Regions from separate parts of the Homo sapiens genome. Here region 1 is linked to region 2. The links are contacts of gene promoters, found by promoter capture Hi-C in blood cells and fetal thymus (Javierre and others, 2016). All regions are on one chromosome and are shown on one strand. The core of a region is centred on a gene start or on the middle of the fragment in contact, and the rest is flanking DNA. Distances in the headings are between cores, read along the strand shown.

Region 1 (3,693 bases), core at 403-2,902, 290 kb before region 2:
AAGTCCTACTGACTGCCTGAAAAGGTAAGAGGGGTGGAGAAGAGGACATAAAAACATTAAAGGGCAAAGAATCTGTAACTTCTAAGAAGTATTTTTTTCTACCTGTAAAAATATGAGTTTTTTTTTTACTTCATTTCATATTCCATGTCCCACGAGAGGAAGGGGAAGCATAATTGCTTCTAATTCTGAGGCAGGGAGAGGAGAGAGAGAGAGAGAGAAAGAGAGCAGTTCAGGATACACTAAAAGGAAACCCCAAGAAATTTCACAACTCTTTGCCATAAATAGCCTTTCTTCTCACTCTGGATACCTCCTCCTTTACATCAGCAAGGCTCAGCCTCCACGCACGCAGAAGCACCATTCACAAATCCCTCCGTCACCCTTACCCCTTGCTGGCACCGTGTGTACGAGTCCCTGGGACACAAGCCAAAAGTCGAAGGGGCCAGGGGGCCACATGCGGTTTCAGCTTACGGCTGACTTTCTGCTCAGGTGAACCAACCCACTGGTTAGTCCAGAGCGCGCGCGCGCGCGCACACACACACACACACACACACGCACACAACCTGGGGCCCTTGACGCTCCACCACAAAGCAAGTGGTTCAATCTAAGTCGCTGCCGTTACTGCTGCCTCTGGGCAGGGTCTTGCTTCCAATCCAGGAAACTGGCGCCAGAGGACAAGCAGGCGGAGGCAAGAGGTGGTCCCGGCCCCGCACTGCGGTTCCTCCGGGAGCCCCTGGCTCCCCGCCCCCTCCTCCCCTTCCCCCTCTTCGCCGCCGTCCCCGCCTCAGCACCCGCAGCCCGGGGCGCCAGCGCTGACCGGTCGCCTCTACCTGCGGGACGCGAGTGGCGAGGAAGGGGAGCGACCCGAAGCCTGCGCCAACTCTCGCCGCCTTGGCCAGCGCTCCGCATCGCCCTGGAGCGGCCGCCGCGGCCGCAGGCAGCAAACCACGCAGCAGCGTGGAGGAAATGGCCACGCGGCGCACTGGGAGTCGCGGGCCGGTGGTGAGCGAGCCCGCCCGCCTCCTTCCCACCCCGCCCGCAAGGCCAGGTCTCTGCGCCGAGCACGCCGGGCCTGGGCGCGCGCTGCTCGCAGGCGGCCCCGACACGGCGCGGTCACCTGCCGAGCGGTCATCCCCGCGTCCGCCTGCGGCCGGCCCCGCAAAGCGGCGACGCGACGCGCGACCCGCTGAGCGCTGAGGCACCAGGGGCGTTACTACCTTGAGGGCTCCGTGCGCTTGTTAAGGCTCCTCCCGGGCACTCAGGGATTTATGTCTTCGGGGCACGGGGGTGTCCTTCCTGGTCCCCCTCCTCTGCCCTCCCTCCCCTTCTCGGCTGTTGGGCTCCTCTCCACTCCCAGTTGCACAGAGTCCAGCTGCGTTATTTAATAATCCTCCTGCTCCTCCTGCCTGCGCCAGCGGAGCTGCTCTGCCCGAGCCACCGCTTCCCAGTCAGTCATGTTGAGACAGAGAGAGAGAGAGAGGAGAGGCGGATTGGCAGTAGGTCGGCGACTATTTGTGGTGAGGGAGAGAAGAGCAGAGCAAGAGGAGGGCAGGGGAGGGACGTGGGGAGGCGCTTCCAAGTGTGTGAGTGCGCGGAGTGTGACTGTGTGGGGAGCGCGAGATCCACCTCCCCGGCAGGCCGCGCTCCGGGGCTGTGAGGAGGGCGGGCCCAAGCGCGGCCTTTATACAAGGAGGAGTGTGGTGGGCTGGGCGGGGCGGCTTGGAGGGCGGTGCCCGGCCCACTGCGTCCGCCGGATTCCACGCACGCATCCTCTGGCATCGACGCGCGCACACCCACTGCTGGCCCGCTGCTGAGTTTTCATTTTAGGGGAAGCAGTATCCCACCGTGCTGACCTGGCCTTTTCCCCCAGTCCATCCTAGTGCTTATGTGGAGTTCAAGTGCATAGGCAGGTCAAGACTAAAGAATAGGGGAAGTCTGAAGAGACGTGAAGTGACTGCGGGGATGCTGGAAATAAATGCACTGTATTTCTCCTCTCCAAGGTTCCGATGTTATCTTTTTTCTCTTCCTCCTGTAAGGGAAGGAATTACCAGATTCTTTCGCCGCTTTTCCTTCTCACCCACACAATTCACATCCTGACAAGTGTCTTCATTCCTCAGTAACAAGAAAAGAAACCTAGCTTCTTTCCTTTAAGCAGGTCACACCTCCCAGGAACCATTTGCAGCAATCAATTCTGTAAGATAATGCAAGCACTGCGACTGTGTCCGAGAGTGGAACTTGTGTTCCTACAAGGAAGGCCCTACACAATACAGGCATTACAAGAGAATCAGCTCAATTTGACATCATTTGACTGATGGTCCCCTGGAGAAAATTTGCCAGTTTAGAAATCGAAAAGACTTTTGATGCATGGTTCTGTTGCCTACATAATTTATTTTCCCCTGATCCTCTCTCCCCTTGCACTGCCTCATTTCCTTTCAGGTTTACACTAAGTACTGAACTCTTTCCCATCCATCCCCTTCTTTATCTCCACTCCAGTATATTTATGCCTTTAGCAGGCAATACAGCAAATGTAGTGCATTTAATTCTGTGTGTGTGTGTGTGTGTGTGTGCGCGCGCGCATCTGTTTTTAACCCATTCTGGTAGAATGTAGGACCATTTCTAGGTAGAAAATGCATCCCCAATATTAAGTTTGTACGCCTAACATCACCTCCCTTACCTTCTGCCCAGATTACAAGATGTTGTGATCAGGTGCACTGAGGTATTGAGAAAAACTTCCAGAAATCAAGTGATCTACAGTTTTTTCAAGGTGTGTTTGTGTGTGCGCGTGCGCGTGCGCACGCTCTGTGTAATCTAACTGGCTATGATCTAACTTCTGAAATGTGGTTATATTGGGAATAAAAGCAAGATGTATTTTTTAAATGAATCTGAGTGGTCAATGTATATTACAGCATGGGGACAACTCTGCTTTTGGGAGACAATTATAGGAAACATTTTTCATAAATTAGACAAAAGGAAGATAAGATTTAGGAGGCTACGGAGGAGGCGGCAAGGTTGACAATTCAGTTGTCCTATCTTCTTCCATGGCTTGTGACCATCGTACATCTTTAGGGTTTTGTCATATGCTGGCACCTTATATATTCTCCACATATTTTACCCTTTCACATTGATGTTCCTGTCTCGTAATTCTTCAATCTCTCATACAGAGTTTAGCAAACATTAAAAATGATTTAAGCATGTGATCAAGACCTAACAAAGAAGTGATATTAAGGAGTGTGATAAAAACAAAGTGATATTGGAAAGGACAGCAAGTTGGGACAGGTGCGTGAATATATCAATAATATAAGTATATAGGCCATTAAAGCTTCTTTGATTAAGCACTGGAAAAATGAATGGACTAACAAAGCATATTGGGATTGATAGTGTGCCCTATGGGACAGCTATTATTATTTCCTCAATTTTACAGACCAAGAAAGTTAAATTTTGAAAGTGTGTGTAGATAACCTAAGATCATACAAAGAATAAATAATGTCAATGGAACTCAATCTGTCTTATTCTACTGTCCATATCATGTCCCATTCAGAAGGCCTGGCTTACTTAAAAATCTCAGGACTTTCCTTAGAGCTTTTGTTTATGAAATAAGCTGACCTACAATCCTTTGGCATTTTTCTTCTACCTCCCTCCTTCTTTTTACAATGCAAGAGCGATTTATGAAATGTTAATGTTTTTTAGGGCTGGTCA
Region 2 (3,236 bases), core at 491-2,990:
ATATGTTTGAATATTTCCCATAACAAAAAGTTGAAAATAGAGTGATCACATGAGTTAATCTCCTAATTTACAAAAAAGAAAACTGGAAACAGAAGGAGAACAAAACTTGTTCAAGGTCTCAAAGCCAGACAGCAAACTAGCTCCCAAGTCCAACCTTCTTGCTCTGGTCCTAAGCAAACAAAAAATATTAATATGAGCTACTGCATTAAGGAAAGTCTGCTTTTCCAAAGGGCAGACCAATAGTTCAAGGAAGAGTTTAAATAATAAATATTTGTGATCTTACTTTCATGCTTTTCTATTTTCCACTGAACACATATGCATTATCTTCTATATGTCTTTTATGTATAATCATTTGCTTCCTGTTCCTTGTGGTTTTAAAGTTGTTTTGTATGTTTAAATTTGATTTTACTCAAATTTCAGAACCCAAATTAGCGCAAGAATCAGACAAAGCATAACTTTCTATAAATATAAAAACAATTAAAAAAAAAACATACAGCAAAAACGAGTTGTTGTTTCCCCCCTCCTCTTCCAGTGCTTAACTAATCTTCCGAATCCAGGCACAGAAAGCAAAGGCTTTCTGCTAGTGGGAGGAGCTTGCTTCTCCATTCTGGTGTGATCCAGGAACAGCTGTCTTCCAGCTCTGAAAGAGGTGAAAATGTGTTAAGCGATGCAAAAATTGTCTTGAAGTTCGCGTGTGTATGTCTGTGTGCATGTGCGTGTGGTGGGTGGGGGGAGAGAAAAGGGGGTGTCAATTCTGAGGGCAACGAGAATCAGAAGTCAGAAAGGTGAGTGGTGTGTAGCATCTCCCTTTCAGAAGGGGCTGAAGAAGAAATTGGATATGATGGTCCGGTAGGCTAAATCACGCTGGATTTGTCTCCCAGATAAAGGGAGGTCTGCAAAGTAAGTCCCATTTCTAGAGCGAAAAGCCTTAGGACCGCTTGTTTTAGACGGCTGGGGAATATTTATTCCTTGTTCCACTGATGGGAAAATCAGCGTCTGGCAGGCGCTGATTGGTGGAAAGGAAAATGGTGATAGTGGCGTGGAAAGAGGATTTGCTGAGCCTTCTCCTGCCTCCTCAACCTGTGACTCTTCCTTAGTAGTCTCCCTTTCACCCTCAGGACCCTTTCCGGCTCTTCCTAGATTAAGAGCAAACGAAAACCTTGAAGATATTTGAACTAAAGCGACCCCTAACGTTGTAACCTGTGACCGTGATTAAATTTCAGCGATGCGAGGGCAAAGCGCTCTCGGCGGTGCGGTGTGAGCCACCTCCCGGCGCTGCCTGTCTCCTCCAGCAGCTCCCCAAGGGATAGGCTCTGCCCTTGGTGGTCGACCCTCAGGCCCTCGGCTCTCCCAGGGCGACTCTGACGAGGGGTAGGGGGTGGTCCCCGGGAGGACCCAGAGGAAAGGCGGGGACAAGAAGGGAGGGGAAGGGGAAAGAGGAAGAGGCATCATCCCTAGCCCAACCGCTCCCGATCTCCACAAGAGTGCTCGTGACCCTAAACTTAACGTGAGGCGCAAAAGCGCCCCCACTTTCCCGCCTTGCGCGGCCAGGCAGGCGGCTGGAGTTGATGGCTCACCCCGCGCCCCCTGCCCCATCCCCATCCGAGATAGGGACGAGGAGCACGCTGCAGGGAAAGCAGCGAGCGCCGGGAGAGGGGCGGGCAGAAGCGCTGACAAATCAGCGGTGGGGGCGGAGAGCCGAGGAGAAGGAGAAGGAGGAGGACTAGGAGGAGGAGGACGGCGACGACCAGAAGGGGCCCAAGAGAGGGGGCGAGCGACCGAGCGCCGCGACGCGGAAGTGAGGTGCGTGCGGGCTGCAGCGCAGACCCCGGCCCGGCCCCTCCGAGAGCGTCCTGGGCGCTCCCTCACGCCTTGCCTTCAAGCCTTCTGCCTTTCCACCCTCGTGAGCGGAGAACTGGGAGTGGCCATTCGACGACAGGTTAGCGGGTTTGCCTCCCACTCCCCCAGCCTCGCGTCGCCGGCTCACAGCGGCCTCCTCTGGGGACAGTCCCCCCCGGGTGCCGCCTCCGCCCTTCCTGTGCGCTCCTTTTCCTTCTTCTTTCCTATTAAATATTATTTGGGAATTGTTTAAATTTTTTTTTTAAAAAAAGAGAGAGGCGGGGAGGAGTCGGAGTTGTGGAGAAGCAGAGGGACTCAGGTAAGTACCTGTGGATCTAAACGGGCGTCTTTGGAAATCCTGGAGAACGCCGGATGGGAGACGAATGGTCGTGGGCACCGGGAGGGGGTGGTGCTGCCATGAGGACCCGCTGGGCCAGGTCTCTGGGAGGTGAGTACTTGTCCCTTTGGGGAGCCTAAGGAAAGAGACTTGACCTGGCTTTCGTCCTGCTTCTGATATTCCCTTCTCCACAAGGGCTGAGAGATTAGGCTGCTTCTCCGGGATCCGCTTTTCCCCGGGAAACGCGAGGATGCTCCATGGAGCGTGAGCATCCAACTTTTCTCTCACATAAAATCTGTCTGCCCGCTCTCTTGGTTTTTCTCTGTAAAGTAAGCAAGCTGCGTTTGGCAAATAATGAAATGGAAGTGCAAGGAGGCCAAGTCAACAGGTGGTAACGGGTTAACAAGTGCTGGCGCGGGGTCCGCTAGGGTGGAGGCTGAGAACGCCCCCTCGGGTGGCTGGCGCGGGGTTGGAGACGGCCCGCGAGTGTGAGCGGCGCCTGCTCAGGGTAGATAGCTGAGGGCGGGGGTGGATGTTGGATGGATTAGAACCATCACACTTGGGCCTGCTGTTTGCCTGAGTTTGAACCACACCCCGAGTGAGCAGTTAGTTCTGTTGCCTACGCCTTTCCACCATCAACCTGTTAGCCTTCTTCTGGGATTCATGTTAAGGATACCCCTGACCCTAAGCCTCCAGCTTCCATGCTTCTAACTCATACTGTTACCCTTTAGACCCCGGGAATTTAAAAAAGGGGTTAATCTTTTCATGCAACTCCACTTCTGAAATGCAGTAATAACAACTCAGAGGATTCATCCTAATCCGTGGTTAGGTGGCTAGACTTTTACTAGCCAAGATGGATGGGAGATGCTAAATTTTTAATGCCAGAGCTAAAAATGTCTGCTTTGTCCAATGGTTAAATGAGTGTACACTTAAAAGAGTCTCACACTTTGGAGGGTTTCTCATGATTTTTCAGTGTTTTTTGTTTATTTTTCCCCGAAAGTTCTCATTCAAAGTGTATTTTATGTTTTCCAGTGTGGTGTAAAGGAATTCATTAGCCATG

What was found. Contacts are between HindIII fragments. The CHiCAGO score rates a contact against its expected background, and 5 or more counts as called.
Region 1: the fragment with the promoter of CCSER1 here is called in contact with the fragment with the promoter of SNCA in region 2 in 14 of 17 cell types (total B cells, neutrophils, naive B cells and 11 more); the score reaches 15.6 in total B cells.

What each region holds. Positions count from the first base shown.
Region 1 is chr4:90,125,353-90,129,045 of GRCh38, reverse strand. CCSER1 (coiled-coil serine rich protein 1) reads right to left here and starts at 1,652. Exons shown (of 11, transcript NM_001145065.2): 1 at 1,215-1,652. RefSeq lists silencers at 535-784, 895-1,094. The HindIII fragment of the contact is 6,776 bases long and covers 1-3,318 here.
Region 2 is chr4:89,835,665-89,838,900 of GRCh38, reverse strand. SNCA (synuclein alpha) reads left to right here and starts at 1,740. Exons shown (of 6, transcript NM_000345.4): 1 at 1,740-1,939; 2 at 3,209-3,236. The coding sequence starts at 3,234. SNCA-AS1 (SNCA antisense RNA 1) reads right to left here and starts at 2,500. Exons shown (of 4, transcript NR_045481.1): 1 at 2,167-2,500; 2 at 495-640. The HindIII fragment of the contact is 7,659 bases long and covers 1-3,236 here.